5 separate regions of the Homo sapiens genome follow, and regions 1, 2, 3 and 4 are each linked to region 5. Evidence: promoter capture Hi-C in 16 types of primary human blood cells and fetal thymus (Javierre and others, 2016). All regions are on one chromosome and are shown on one strand. Each heading gives the region's core, a stretch centred on a gene start or on the middle of the fragment in contact. The rest is flanking DNA. Distances are from core to core; before and after follow the strand shown.

The links. The method cuts DNA at HindIII sites, captures the fragments that hold promoters and counts their contacts. A CHiCAGO score of 5 or more calls a contact.
Region 1: a contact is called between a fragment that was not itself captured here and the fragment with the promoter of RNASE11 in region 5, in 4 of 17 cell types (erythroblasts, total B cells, non-activated CD4 T cells and 1 more). The highest score is 8.9, in erythroblasts.
Region 2: a contact is called between a fragment that was not itself captured here and the fragment with the promoter of RNASE11 in region 5, in 3 of 17 cell types (total B cells, erythroblasts and naive CD8 T cells). The highest score is 8.2, in total B cells.
Region 3: a fragment that was not itself captured here is called in contact with the fragment with the promoter of RNASE11 in region 5 in 1 of 17 cell types (erythroblasts); the score reaches 5.9 in erythroblasts.
Region 4: a contact is called between a fragment that was not itself captured here and the fragment with the promoter of RNASE11 in region 5, in 3 of 17 cell types (naive CD8 T cells, total CD4 T cells and naive B cells). The highest score is 6.5, in naive CD8 T cells.

Annotation. Positions count from the first base shown.
Region 1 is chr14:20,396,842-20,399,541 of GRCh38, reverse strand. The region is part of intron 9 of TEP1 (telomerase associated protein 1); the gene reads left to right. Among named protein-coding and RNA genes, the nearest start is that of TEP1, 15 kb to the left of the region's middle. The HindIII fragment of the contact is 1,267 bases long and covers 683-1,949 here.
Region 2 is chr14:20,380,739-20,383,438 of GRCh38, reverse strand. TEP1 (telomerase associated protein 1) reads left to right here. Exons shown (of 55, transcript NM_007110.5): 27 at 86-265; 28 at 724-816; 29 at 1,083-1,215; 30 at 1,376-1,526; 31 at 1,753-1,886; 32 at 2,038-2,126; 33 at 2,394-2,508. Among named protein-coding and RNA genes, the nearest start is that of TEP1, 31 kb to the left of the region's middle. The HindIII fragment of the contact is 2,872 bases long and covers 1-2,700 here.
Region 3 is chr14:20,429,793-20,432,492 of GRCh38, reverse strand. It overlaps KLHL33 (kelch like family member 33), which reads left to right. Exons shown (of 5, transcript NM_001365790.2): 3 at 1,774-2,698. Among named protein-coding and RNA genes, the nearest start is that of KLHL33, 5.0 kb to the left of the region's middle. The HindIII fragment of the contact is 2,721 bases long and covers 1-2,700 here.
Region 4 is chr14:20,350,887-20,353,586 of GRCh38, reverse strand. It overlaps PARP2 (poly(ADP-ribose) polymerase 2), which reads right to left. Exons shown (of 16, transcript NM_001042618.2): 6 at 2,465-2,540; 7 at 1,240-1,342. Among named protein-coding and RNA genes, the nearest start is that of PARP2, 8.6 kb to the right of the region's middle. The HindIII fragment of the contact is 4,027 bases long and covers 1-2,700 here.
Region 5 is chr14:20,586,599-20,589,298 of GRCh38, reverse strand. It overlaps RNASE11 (ribonuclease A family member 11 (inactive)), which reads left to right and starts at 1,298. Exons shown (of 3, transcript NM_001394190.1): 1 at 1,298-1,439; 2 at 1,674-1,736. It overlaps RNASE11-AS1 (RNASE11 and RNASE12 antisense RNA 1), which reads right to left and starts at 1,075. Exons shown (of 5, transcript NR_122043.1): 1 at 981-1,075. The HindIII fragment of the contact is 10,143 bases long and covers 1-2,700 here.

The sequences.
Region 1 (2,700 bases), core at 67-2,566, 190 kb after region 5:
AATAAATAAAAGGAAATATAAAAAAAGATATAAGTATAAAATATAAGATAAAATGTAATTGGATATACAGAACCCTTTTTGAAGACCACAGATCTCATTAATAACTCATTAACATTTTTTTGGAATGAAATTAGTGAATTTTGCAATCTTAAGGATAAATGTCCAGTTTATTTTCTAATATCACCAGTATGATATTGGACTTAATTTCTTACCGAAAATGATCTAGAAAACCTTTTATACATAGTAACAGTGGAAAAAACTTGAGTCGACAATGGATGCAATAGTTCATTTATAGTACATATACAACCTAATTGTTCCATACAGTTTGTGAATCAGAATTATGACTGGAGGCCAGGCACCATGGCTCACGCCTGTAATCCCAGCACTTTGGGAGGCTGGGGCGGGCAAATCACTTGAGCTCAGGAGTTTGAGACCAGCCTGAGCAACATGGTGAAACCCCGTCTCTAACCAAAAATAGAAAAATTAGCTGGGCATGGTGGTTGATGTCTGTGGTCCCAGCTGCTTGGGAGGTTGAGGCAGGAGGATTGCTTGAGCCTGGAAAGTGGAGGTTGCAGCGAGCCAAGATTGTGCCACTGAGTGACAGAGACAGACTCCATCTCAAAAATAAAAAAAAAAAGAATGATGACTGGAGAATCCCAAGACTTCCAGAGGGCTGAAAGCTTCCAGCTATAATTCAAATAAGACTTACATCCCCTTTACAAAGGGAGCAGCATTTACCTGATGAAGCTGCTGATGGTGTGGGCTGGTGCACAAGGCATGGTGACGGACTGACCGGCCTGGCCTCTAAAGTGGTTTGAATGCACCTCTGTCCAGGAAAAGAAAATCACACCTCCTATTTATGTTTACTTTTATCTAAAAGAAAAGAATTTTCCCAGTACTTACCATGCAGATTGAACCCACATAGTCACTGAATCCATATGATACAGTGTTATGTGTTACGTGTAATAGTTGAGGTTTTCTGAGCATCCACAATCTGAGGGCATTAATGTCACCCCTTCACTCTTTTTTTTTTTTAATTTTGGTTTCTATATAATTTGACTTATAGCAATTTATCTTTCAATTGTAGATGGATTTGGAATTATATTATTCAGTATTAACCAAATTAACTGTCTAAAATTGATATAAACCTTTTTTTTTTTTTTTTGGGCGGAGTCTCACTTTGATGCCCAGGCTGGAGTGCAATGGCGCGACCTCGGCTCACTTCAACCTCCGCCTCCCAGGTTCAAGTGATTCTCCTGCTTCAGCCTCCTGATTAGCTGAGATTACAGGCGACCACCACCACGCCCGGCTAATTTTTGTATTTTTAGTAGAGATGGGGTTTCACCGTGTTAGCGAGGATGGTCTTGATCTCCTGACCTCATGATCCGCCTGAGTCGGCCTTCCAAAGTGCTGGGATTACAGGCGTGAGCCACTGCACCCGGCCTAAAATTGATATAAACCTTAAAAATATTATTATTAAGAAACTATGGGCTGGGCATGGTGGCTCACGCCTGTAATCCCAGCAATTTGGGAGGCCGAGGCAGGCAGATCACTGTAGATCGGGAGTTTGAGACCAGCCTGGCCAACATGGTGAAACCCCGTCTCTACTAAAAATACAAAAATTAGCCAGGCATGGTGGTGAGCACTTGTAATCCCAGCTACTCGGAGGCTGAGGCAGGAGAATTGCTTGAATCCAGGAATCAGAGGTTGCAGTGAGCTGAGATTGCACCACCACACTCTAGCCTGGGTGACAGAGTGAGACTCCGTCTCAAAAAAAAAAGAAAAGAAACTATGGCTTGAAGATAATATTAATAACACAGGTACAAGGGAACAATAAGGAAGTGACAGAGGTCAGTGGTGAAATTCTATCTCCAGTGCAAATCTTTTTCACCTATATTTAAGCAAAAAAAGTAATGACTAATCAAATAGAAGAAATTGGGTGAGAAGCTTACAAATTATGAAGACTATTTCAAATATGGATTTACATACATTCGTCATTATAAATGGTGAACTTTTTTTTAATTTTTTTTTTGGAGACAGAGTCTTGCTTTGTCACCCAGGCTGCAGTGCAGTGGCGTGATCTCGGTTCACTGCAACCTTCGCATTTTGGTTTCAAGCGATTCTCCTGACTCAGCCTTTCGAGTGGCTGGGATTAGAGGCACCAGACACCACGCCTGGCTAATTTTTGTATTTTTGTAGAGACGGGGTTTCATAAATGGTGAACCTTCTTTTAAATGGATATTGTGCCTTGAAATATTAACTAATGAATGTGCTACATTATGTTAGTATATACTTCATAAATCAACTTACACTACGAAATTTCTCTTTTGGCCATCTAAAAAGTTTAGAAACCTTTGCTCTAGACTAGATAATACATTTTGCCAGTTGAACCCAATCTTAGGGCTAGAGCCAACAGATTAAGTGGTAACATAACAGCCATCCCATAAACAGTGTTGCATAAATTTTGTTCCAAACTTTGGGCCAACCCTGTTTTTAATCTTTCCAAGCCTTTAAAACATTTTGAGTAGGGTAGATTGTATGTGAATTCCTCACTTCCTCTATCTTGGACTTTCCACATGCCTGGTTTCTGAACTTCTTGCTCTGGTCTCTGACCTCTCTCTAATCATCCCTCATTTGCTTTTTTTTTTTGAGACAGTCTTGCTATGTTGCCCAGGCTGGACTCTAATTCCTGGGTTCTGG
Region 2 (2,700 bases), core at 131-2,630, 210 kb after region 5:
GGGATACGGCACGGAGGAGAGAGGCCTCTCCAATGTGGTTCTCCTTTTCTTTCTACCTTCCTGCCCCTTTGCCCAAATATCACAGTGTGTACACCTGGTGCTGAGTGTGTCTAGTGATGCAGGCCTAGGGGAGACCCTTGAGCAGAGCCAGGGTGCCCACGTGCTGGCCTTGGGGCCTCTGGAGGCCTCTGCTCGGGCCCGGCTGGTGAGAGAGGAGCTGGCCCTGTACGGGAAGCGGCTGGAGGAGTCACCATTTAACAACCAGGTTGGGTTCTAGGCCGGGGCCGGTGGGTGTGTGGGGTGAATCTGGGAGCTATGAGGACCTGGGGTGCCGAGGCCGCTAGCTGCCTTGCACAGACCTGCTCCTTTGTTTTCTCAGAAATTCTGTCCATGGGAAGTTGTTAATAAGAAAATTGTGATTCCTGATCATGTCACCCAGCCCTCTTCCCCCGGTGAATGGCCTTTCCAGGGCCTCTCGGGGTGAGGGGATGAGTCAAGTGGTTTTTGGTGGGGTAGGCCGAGCCACAGGGGTTTTCTGGCAGGGCTGGCTGGGCAGAGCAGCGTAGGAGAGGGATGGTTTGTGTCCTGGGATGATGCCATGGACCTGGCGTCTGCTGGGGACTCTCAGAGGAGGAGCTGCCTGGCAGAGGGGCTGGTGCTGGGGCAGAGGGCTGGCTGCGGGCAGCCCTCCTGGACCCCACCCTGAGTCCTGAGTCTTGCCAGATGCGACTGCTGCTGGTGAAGCGGGAATCAGGCCGGCCGCTCTACCTGCGCTTGGTCACCGATCACCTGAGGCTCTTCACGCTGTATGAGCAGGTCAGTTCTCATCACCTTCCAAGTCCTAATCACTACTTCCCATTCTCTCTTCAGCTGCTTTGTCTCATCCCTATCCCACGTCCTTTGCTGTCTTGTGATCACCCACTCCCTATCCTCGCCTCATACCTCGCCTCACTTCCCTCCTACTGTTGTTCTTTACTTTTTCATTCCTCCACACTGTCCTCCTGCTGCCCCTTCCCTATCCCACAAGCCAAGCTGCTTCTCCTCCCACTGCACTGAACAAGGCTGTCCTCCCGCCATCCTAGGTGTCTGAGAGACTCCGGACCCTGCCTGCCACTGTCCCCCTGCTGCTGCAGCACATCCTGAGCACACTGGAGAAGGAGCACGGGCCTGATGTCCTTCCCCAGGCCTTGACTGCCCTAGAAGTCACACGGAGTGGTCAGTGCTTGGGGTGGGTTGGTTGGGAGGCTGAGGGCCAGGGTTCGGATTACATTGGTTCCCTTGGGGTCTCAGCAGGCAGTTCAAGGAGAGACTGGGTGTGGTGGGGGCGGGGACACCGTATGGTTAGATGAGGGCCTCAGAGAGCTTGAGTTTTCAGGTTTGACTGTGGACCAGCTGCACGGAGTGCTGAGTGTGTGGCGGACACTACCGAAGGGGACTAAGAGCTGGGAAGAAGCAGTGGCTGCTGGTAACAGTGGAGACCCCTACCCCATGGGCCCGTTTGCCTGCCTCGTCCAGAGTCTGCGCAGGTACAGGTGCCCCAGCAGAGCTCCCGCTGACCTCTCTGTGCCTTCCCTTCTTTGAGCCGGGGCCCTCTGTATAGCTTCAACAACTGGCTCCCAGACCATGAATGAGCTACTGCTCCAGCTGCTCCAGTTTCCGCTATTTGAGGGGGGAATAGGAGCCCACTGTGTGCCAGGAAGCTCACTGACAGGCCTCTTCCTTCTTCTCTCTCCCTTCCTCACACGAGGACAGTTTGCTAGGGGAGGGCCCTCTGGAGCGCCCTGGTGCCCGGCTGTGCCTCCCTGATGGGCCCCTGAGAACAGCAGCTAAACGTTGCTATGGGAAGAGGCCAGGGCTAGAGGACACGGCACACATCCTCATTGCAGGTGATTGCAGCCCAAGTCAGCCTGGGCACTGAGTGTGGGGCTTGGGCCTGGAGGCCAGGACCACCCACTGTGCTCCCATCTGCTGGCCAGCTCACCTACTGCCCTTGGGAATGATGCAGGGCTGAGCCTTTCTCAATATCTGTTCATGCAGCTCAGCTCTGGAAGACATGTGACGCTGATGCCTCAGGCACCTTCCGAAGTTGCCCTCCTGAGGCTCTGGGAGACCTGCCTTACCACCTGGTTAGTTCCTAGACCCCATAGACACCTTTCCCAAAGTGAGTGCTTTGGTTGCTCTGAGACCCCTCTCCCCGTTACCATCTCCACCATCACCGCCGCCATTACCCCTCCCAAACTCCCTTGACCTCTTTCCTTTCAGTTTTCCTGCCCTTCTTCTTCAAGTCCTTTGTCCCAGCTCAGATCCTATCTCTGTATCCAGGTTCTGAGACTAAACTGTCCCTTCTCACCAGCCCCTTCATATCCCTAATGAATTCAATCTGACCTTCTCAGCTCCAGAGCGGGAACCGTGGACTTCTTTCGAAGTTCCTTACCAACCTCCATGTGGTGGCTGCACACTTGGAATTGGGTCTGGTCTCTCGGCTCTTGGAGGCCCATGCCCTCTATGGTGAGATGAGTCACTGGCTGGGTTCTTCTCTGAGATATGGGACTCCTGGGTGTGCTTATGGGGGCCCTGCTCAGGGTTGGGGCAGGGGTGTGGGTGTCAGGGAAAAAAGATTCAAATTTCCATTTCGAGTTGAAAATGCCAAGAGGGTGAGCACGTGACTCTCAGGAGACCTTTCACCTTGATCTCTTGGAC
Region 3 (2,700 bases), core at 98-2,597, 160 kb after region 5:
ACAGTCCTTCCTCCTTTTTTTTTTTTATTACTTTATATATTGATTGGTAAAGACAATAACATGTAAGATTGGTTACCCTGGGCCAGGCATAGTGGCTCACGCCTGTAATCCCAACACTTTGGGAGGCCGAGGCAGGCAGATCACTTGAGGCCAGGAGTTCAAGGTTAGCCTGTCCAACATGGCGAAACCGTCTCTACTAAAAATACAAAAATTAGCCAGGCATGGTAGCGTGCACCTGTAGTCCCAGCTAATCTGGAAGCTGAGGCACGAGAATCACATGAAGCTGGAGGGTGGAGGTTGCAGTGAGCCGAGATTGTACCACTGCACTCCAGGCAGGGTGACAGAGTAAGACCCTATCTCAAAAAAAAAAAAATTGGTTATCCTATAAAATGCTCCATTTTCTTGATTTGTGTGGTTTTTCCCCTCTAAATTGTTCCTTTAGCCTTTCAACTTCCTATAAACTTGACTTTAGATCTAAAGAGTTGAACAGATTCAAGTTAAATATTTTGGCCAGAATAATCCATAAGTGATGCTGAGTATGAGGTCTAATTGTTTAACAGCGTAGGTTAATAGGACAGTTTCATTGTCATGAGGACCATGCAGATAACCAAGGTATTGGTACACAAGCATGCTTATTGCAGCCTGACATCAGTGGCAGTGGATGGAGATGATCTGCCCACACAGCCACTGCATGGAAATGAAAAATAAATCACATGCTTTCTTTGGGACCCAACTCAGTTTCCACATTTTATTTATTTATTTATTTTGAGATGGAGTCTCGCTCTGTCACCCAGGCTGGGTGCAGCGGCGCAGTCTCAGCTCATTGCAACCCTCGCCTCCCAGGTTCAAGCTATTCTCCTGCCTCAGTCTCCAAGTAGCTGGGATTACAGGCGCCTGCCACCATGCCCGGCTAATGTTTGTATTTTTGGTAGAGATGGAGTTTCACCATGTTGGCCAGGCTGGCCTTGAACTCCTGACCTCAAGTGATCCTACCCACCTCAGCCTCCCAAAGTGCTGGGATTACAGGTGTGTGCCACGACACCCAACCAGTTTCCTTATTTTAAAGGGAATAATTGAATTAGATTATTTTGAAGTTCTCAAGTTTCAGATCTCATGATTCTACAAATTACACCAAGAACAGGAGAGGGTTATGCAGAGAAAAGCTGGGACGCACGGAAAACATTAAACACTAAATCTTAGGCAAGAGGAGACAGCAATCCGATGAGGTTGGATTACAGCCATTCCCGAGTGGTGCCACTTTCCCAGCAAAATCTAACAGAATGGCTGACAGTCTTGGCTCTTGATTGTAAAGAATTTTATTTTGTCACGATATAGACAGACCTATATAAGTTGCTTGTTGGTCATTTCCCATTTATTTTGTGCTCCTCTTAGCAAATGCTTTCCTCTCAACCTGATCCATGAAGACTCTTTTTCTGACTCATCTGACCAAAAAGACTAAAGCAATGTTTATCTAAGTGTCTTCAGGCCACTAACATGAGAATCACATAGGGTTACTTGAAGTGTTACAATACAAATTTCTAGGGTCTCCGTCCAGAACTGCTGAATCAGAATCTCTGGGAGTGGACTGCTGAAACCTGCATTTTAACAACTACCCCATGGTATTCTGATGCACACCACAGTTTGGTCTGTAGCAGTGGGTGGCTTGGAGGGCCAAACTTAGAGTTTGGCCAAACTTAGAGTACCAAGTTGGGGTAATGCCTATCGGTCTTGCAATACTTTGAGTCCTCCTCTATTCCTTCTCCCCTCCTGCAGTGCACCGAGCCGCCCTGGCCTGTGGCAGTGAGTTCTTTGGGGCCATGCTCCTGAGCGGGATGAGGGAATCCCAGGGCACAGAGGTATCTCTGCGGACGATCTCCACCCAGGACCTGCGACTCCTCGTCTCTTTTGCTTACTCCGGAGTTGTGCGGGCAAGGTGGCCAGGGCTACTGAGAGCTGCCCAGGCTGCTCTGCAGTACCAGAGCTCTTCCTGCTTGGATTTGTGTCAGAAAGGCTTGGCACGGGGCCTCAGCCCTGCCCGTTGCCTGGCCCTGTTCCCCATGGCGGAAGCCCCTGGGTTGGAGAGGCTCTGGAGCAAAGCCCGTCACTACCTCCTCACCCACCTGCCTGCTGTAGCCTTGTGTCCTGCTTTCCCTTCTTTACCAGCTGCCTGCTTGGCTGAGCTCCTGGATAGTGATGAGCTCCATGTGCAGGAGGAGTTTGAGGCCTTTGTGGCTGCACGGTGTTGGCTGGCTGCCAACCCCGAGACCCAGGAGTCAGAGGCCAAGGCCCTGCTGCGATGTGTCCGCTTTGGCCGCATGTCCACCAGGGAGTTGCGGAGGGTGCGGGCAGCCGGGCTACTTCCACCCCTGACCCCAGATCTGTTGCACCAGCTGATGGTAGAGGCTGATGTTCCAGGCCAAGAGAGACGGAGGGAGCCTGACCGGGCACTGGTAGTGATTGGCGGGGATGGGCTCAGACCAGACATGGCCCTAAGACAACCATCCCGAGCAGTGTGGTGGGCCCGGGCCTTCCGCTGTGGCGTGGGACTGGTACGAACTGTTGAGTGGGGGCAGCTGCCTGCCCTGCCTGCCCCCGGACGCTTCCGGCATGGGGCTGCAAGCCTGGCAGGAAGTGAACTCTATGTGTGTGGGGGACAAGATTTCTACAGTCACTCCAACACCCTGGCTTCAACTCTCAGGT
Region 4 (2,700 bases), core at 21-2,520, 240 kb after region 5:
ATTTTTTATCACTCCTCTCTTGGTCCATAACAATAAACTTCTGGTGCCAGCCGCAGTGGCTCACGCTTGTAATCCCAGCACTTTGGGAGGCCAAGACGGGCGGATCATGATGTCAGGAGATCGAGACCATCCTGGCTAACATGGTGAAACCCCGTCTCTACTAAAAATACAAAAAAAAATTAGCCGGGCGTGGTGGCGGGCGCCTGTAGTCCCAGCTACTCCGGAGGCTGAGGCAGGAGAATGGCGTGAACCCAGAGGCGGAGCGTGCAGTGAGCCGAGATCGCGCCACTGCACTCCAGCCTGGGCGACAGAGCGAGACTCCGTATCAAAAAAAAACAAAAACAAAAAAACGAAAAAAACAATAAACGTCTGGAAATAGGGCCTAAGATTTTATAAGAAACTTAGTAGGCCGGGCGTGATGGCTCACGCCTGTAATCCCAGCACTTTGGGAAGCTGAGGCGGGTAGATCACCCAAGGTCACGAGTTCAAGACCAGACTGGCCAACATGATGAAACCCTGTCTCTACTAAAAATACAAAAAAAATTAGCTGGGCATAGTGGCGGGCACCTGTAATCCCAGCTACCTGAGAGGCTGAGGCAGAAGAATCGCTTGAACCCGGGAGCTGGAGGTTGCAGCGAGCTGAGACTGAGCCATTGCACTCCAACCTGGGCAACAAGAATCAAACTCCAGCTCAAAAAAAAAAAAAAGAACCTTAGTAAATAACAGAGCCAAGACTAGAAAGGCACATTCTATCCTCATTCTTACTGTCCCTTTGGGATTACAAAGATCAGTGAGAGCACCCCTGAGGTGAGAAGTAGAAAGGATTCAAGATATCCTGGCCTGTCCCAGTCCAGGAATGATCTAAGCTATTCTGCTTTACCCTGAGTAAGAAGAAACAGGAGTAGGTGTGGTGCCTCATGCTTGTAATCTCAGGACTTTGGGAGGCCAAGACAAGAGGACTGCTTGAGCCCAGGAATTCGAGACCAGCCTGGGCAACATAGTGAAACCTCATCTTTACAAAAAAAAAAGAAAAAAAATCAGCTGGGCAGAGTGGCACGTGCCTGTAGTTCCTGATACTGAGGAGGCTGAGGTGGGAGGATCACTTGAGCCTGAGGATCTTGAGGCTGCAGTGAGCCATGATTGTGCCACCCAGCCTGGGCAACAGAGCACAGTTTTGCCTCTAAAAAATAAAATAAAAAAAGAAGATGTGTTTCTTTCGAAAAGTATAGTGAGAGTTACCTGAGTATTGGTGGCATAGTCCATCTGTAGCATATCATATTTTCCAGGCACCTTCTCAAACTTTTCTCGATCTTCCCAATTGTTTTTCGTTTTGTCAAGGAATCTGTAGAGTCCAAGGTGTAAGAAAACTTTACAAATAAAGGTCTACTATGAAGATGGACTTACAAGACAGAAAATCTCCAAAGAATTTATTTTCCAGCACTGAGCTCCTTTACACATCAACTTTCCATAAATCAAAATTAGTCTAATTCTAAATGAGGACACTAAATGGACAAAAAAGCTCTGGAGACAAATGGAATTTAAAAAATGGGAAAAACAATGCTTGTCCTTCCCAAACACCACAAAAGCCATTGAGATTTCAAACAAAAGATATCCATCTAATCTCTTTCCCTGAAAGAAACATGTTCTCCAATTCTCCAGAAAGTTCTTCATCTATATCATAAAGTTTTAAAAATTCTAACTGAATATTCTCTTTTTTTCTTTCCTTTTTTTTGGGGGAGAGTCAGGGGTCTCGCTTTGTTGCCCAGGCTGGTCTCAAACTCCTAGCTTCAAGCAATCCTCCTGCCTCAACCTCCCAAAGTGCTGGGATTACAGGCATCACCGTGCTCAGCCCCTAGTTGAATATTATCTATCCCAGGATAGTCTCCACTTATCCCAAATTTCCTAAATTTGTCAGTCATGTGTTAAATATATTAGATTCTTCTGTTTTTAGTGACTTTCAAGGTATTAGTTTGATTTAATCACTAAGGATGCAGTTTGGTGTTTCAACCACAGAATGTCAGGGTGAAAAGACATTAACATTTAGGCCAAATCACACCTATAAAACGAAAAGTTTTTTATAAGCCACACACTTATAAAATTCTTAGAGAAGGCAGGGCACGGTGGCTCACGCCTGTAATCCCGCACTTTGGGAGGCTGAGGCAGGCGGATCACCTGAGGTCAGGGGTTCGAGACCAGCCTGGCCAACATGGCGAAACCCCATCTCTATTAAAAATACAAAAATTAGCTGGGCGTGGTGGTGGGCGCCTGTAATCCCAGCTACTAGGGAGGCTGAGGCAGGAGAATCACTTAAACCCAGGAGGTGGAGGTTGCAGTGAGCTCAGATCATGCCATTGCACTCCAGCCTGGGCAACAAGAGTGAAACTGTCTAAAAAAAAATTTTTTAGAGAATATACATCTAAGAAGAGGAGGGTATATTTTTTTGTAGTCACTTTTCAGCACTCACTTCTTCTGAAAGATTTCCTTGGCCTTGTTGAGATTGCCTGAACAAGCCACCAGGCTGTGCTGTCCCATTTTCCCAACTGCAAAGGAAATGCCACACATAAGATAGTTCCCTAAGAGTAACAGGCCAGCTCTCCAAGATCTCTCTGCTTAACATCTGACAAACAGGCAGGAAAGGGAGAAGGGAAAGGTGAAAGGATTTAGGGAACTAATCATGTTGATACAAGTTACTTGCTAACT
Region 5 (2,700 bases), core at 49-2,548:
GGGGCGGCAGAGTGAGACTCCGTCTCAAAAAAAAAAAAAAAGAAATCTTGGATGCTCAAAATATCTATCACAAAATTTTGAAGATCCAATCTGACAAGGCTAGGATCAGGGTAAGATGAGTTATGTGAGAAACGTAGTGCAGGGCCAGATCCTGGTATTTAAAATTTTAACATTTGTTCATCAGGGATTATTTTGCATTAAATTTATTTTCTGGCCAGGCGTGGTGGCTCATGCCTGTAATCCCAGCACTTTGGGAGGCTGAGGCAGGTGGAACACTTGAGGTCAGGAGTTTGAGATCAGCCTGGCCAACATGGTGAAACCTCCTCTCCACTAAAAATACAAAAGTTAGTTGGGTGTGGTGGTGCACGCCTGTAATCCCAGCTGCTTGGGAAGCTGACACAGGAGGAGCGCTTGAACCTGGGAGGTGGAGGTTGCAGTGAGCCGAGATCATGCCATTGCACTCCAGCCTGGGCAACAGAGCAAGACTCTGTCTCAAAAATAAATAAATAAATATTTTCTAAAATTGTTGCATTAAAATATTATTTATCTTGATTATTGAGTTTTGTGGCACTCTCTTAAATTTTGGTCTTAGAGTGAGTGTCTCATTAACCTCAGCCTAATCCTAGCTCTGCTTCTAGCTGTAGAAGCAACAGAGGTCACCTCTTAGGGTCTTTTTTAAAGATAGCATATACAACTCAGGCAGCATCTGTTCCTGTTCAGCAGCTCCCTTTGTGTCTTGAAATAAAGAAAGGAGCCTGACTGGTCTGAAACCATTTCCCTTAAAGACTTTAGAGAGACACAGATAAGGATTTCCCAGGGAGGGATTGAGACTTTCAGAGCTCAGTGACCTCCTCTTTGTGTCTCCAGAAGGAACAGAGAGGACTTTGAGCCGGACTACTAACTCTTTTCTCTTTTTAGTTCTTACAATTGGACTTACTGCTTAGTTTCCCCACATTCAGCTATGGGCATAGTATCCTTACAGCTAGAAGGAGAAGGACGAGAAAGAGAGATTTCTAATTCTGGGGATTTCATGAAGTCCTCTTCTTCTCTATTCATTAGTTTCCTTGTCTGTAAAGTGAGGATCTTGAATTAGATAATCTTTCAAGTTCTTTCCAAGTCTATTAGTCTATAATTCTATTTCTTAAGTAGTACAGAAAATGGCTATATTATAGCCATTGTTGGAGGGGAGAATTTGTATTGTGAGGTAGTAAGAAATAAGGGGCAATTGGCAAATAAAGGCCAGATTATGTTGTCACTAATTCTGAGCTATGGCATTTCAATCCTGTATGTGAGAGCTAGAGACTCATACAGTGACCTAGAGCAGGCATGGGTGGGTCACAGGCTTTGGAGAGCACTCTCTGTCCTGATCTTTTCAGTTGAGAGACTTCAGCTGTTCATTGCTCATTTGGACTTAGTTCAAGGTCATGTCAAAGAAGAAGGTGCACTTACGCTAGTTGTTAGCTCTGTCTTTTGTAACCATCAAGTTCCATGCGATTGATCAGATTTAGGAGGGGGCGTTGGGGGATAATCGTAAGTGAAGGACAGTTTGCAACCTTGTGAGTAGGCAACGCTTACTCATCTCATGGCTTCTTCCATCTTAGGTGGCCGTTTTTCAGCTGAGTTTCATTTTCTAGTTCTCTGTGGTAATTCTGTTGTCATTGTTGTCTCCATAGAATTTTGGGTGTCACCAGGTAAACAGAGCCCTCAGCATCTGAATAGAAACTGAACAGGAACAGGTAGGTGGTCCCTAGCACATGATTTGTTGGGCCTTGGTAGCATCATTTTTTGGGCAAAACTTTGAAGTGGATGAAATGCATCCTTTAGGTTCCTACATCTATTTTCTGAATTCTGATTCCTTTTTCTATCCCTCTCCCTAGGTTTTGTTGTCTTTTCTTTCCTTTTCAGTGCTTTTTCTCCCCTTCTTCACCGAAGCTCCTCCTTTCTAATTAAAAATATCTTGCAGATAAAAGTATAACTGAGATGAACCAATAGGATGTATCCTCAGAGTAATTTCATTCAATAGGGATCAACACCAAATTCAAATGAATTGTGACATTTTAGACATTCGTAGTTTGGGTGTGTGTGTATCTATATCTATCTATCTGTATCTAAATATGTATATACATATATATTATACAGATATATAGGATCAGAGTCTCATTCTGTTGCCCAGGATGGAGTGCAGTTGTGTGATCACAGCTCACTGCAGTCTCAGACTTTTGGGCTCAAGAAATCCTCTCCTCTCAGCCTCCCGAGTGGCTGGGACTATAGGCATATGCCACCACAACTGGCTTTTTGTTGTTGTTGTTGTTGTAGAGATGGATTCTCACTATGTTGCCTAGGCTGGTCTTGAACTTCTGGCCTCAAGTGATCCTCCCGCATTGGCCTCCCAAAGCAATGAGACCACAGGCATGAGTGACTGTGCCCAGCCAGGTATATTTTTTTAAAGGGCACCTCTTAGCAGTTTCAAATAAAACCTAGGCAGCTGTGAATGCTGCCCACTTGAAATATATGTCTCAGAAAGACTGGAAATTTCTGCCCTGCTCTTCTTCCTGTTTATCTTTCTCCTCCTGGTCTTTCTGTTTCCCTATTGTCACCTCACTACTGATGTCAATGGTATAGGATATAGAAGTTTAGGAAACAAAATAAATTCCCTATAAATCCCTCATCCTTTCTGCCTTCAAAATGTATCAGGTCTTT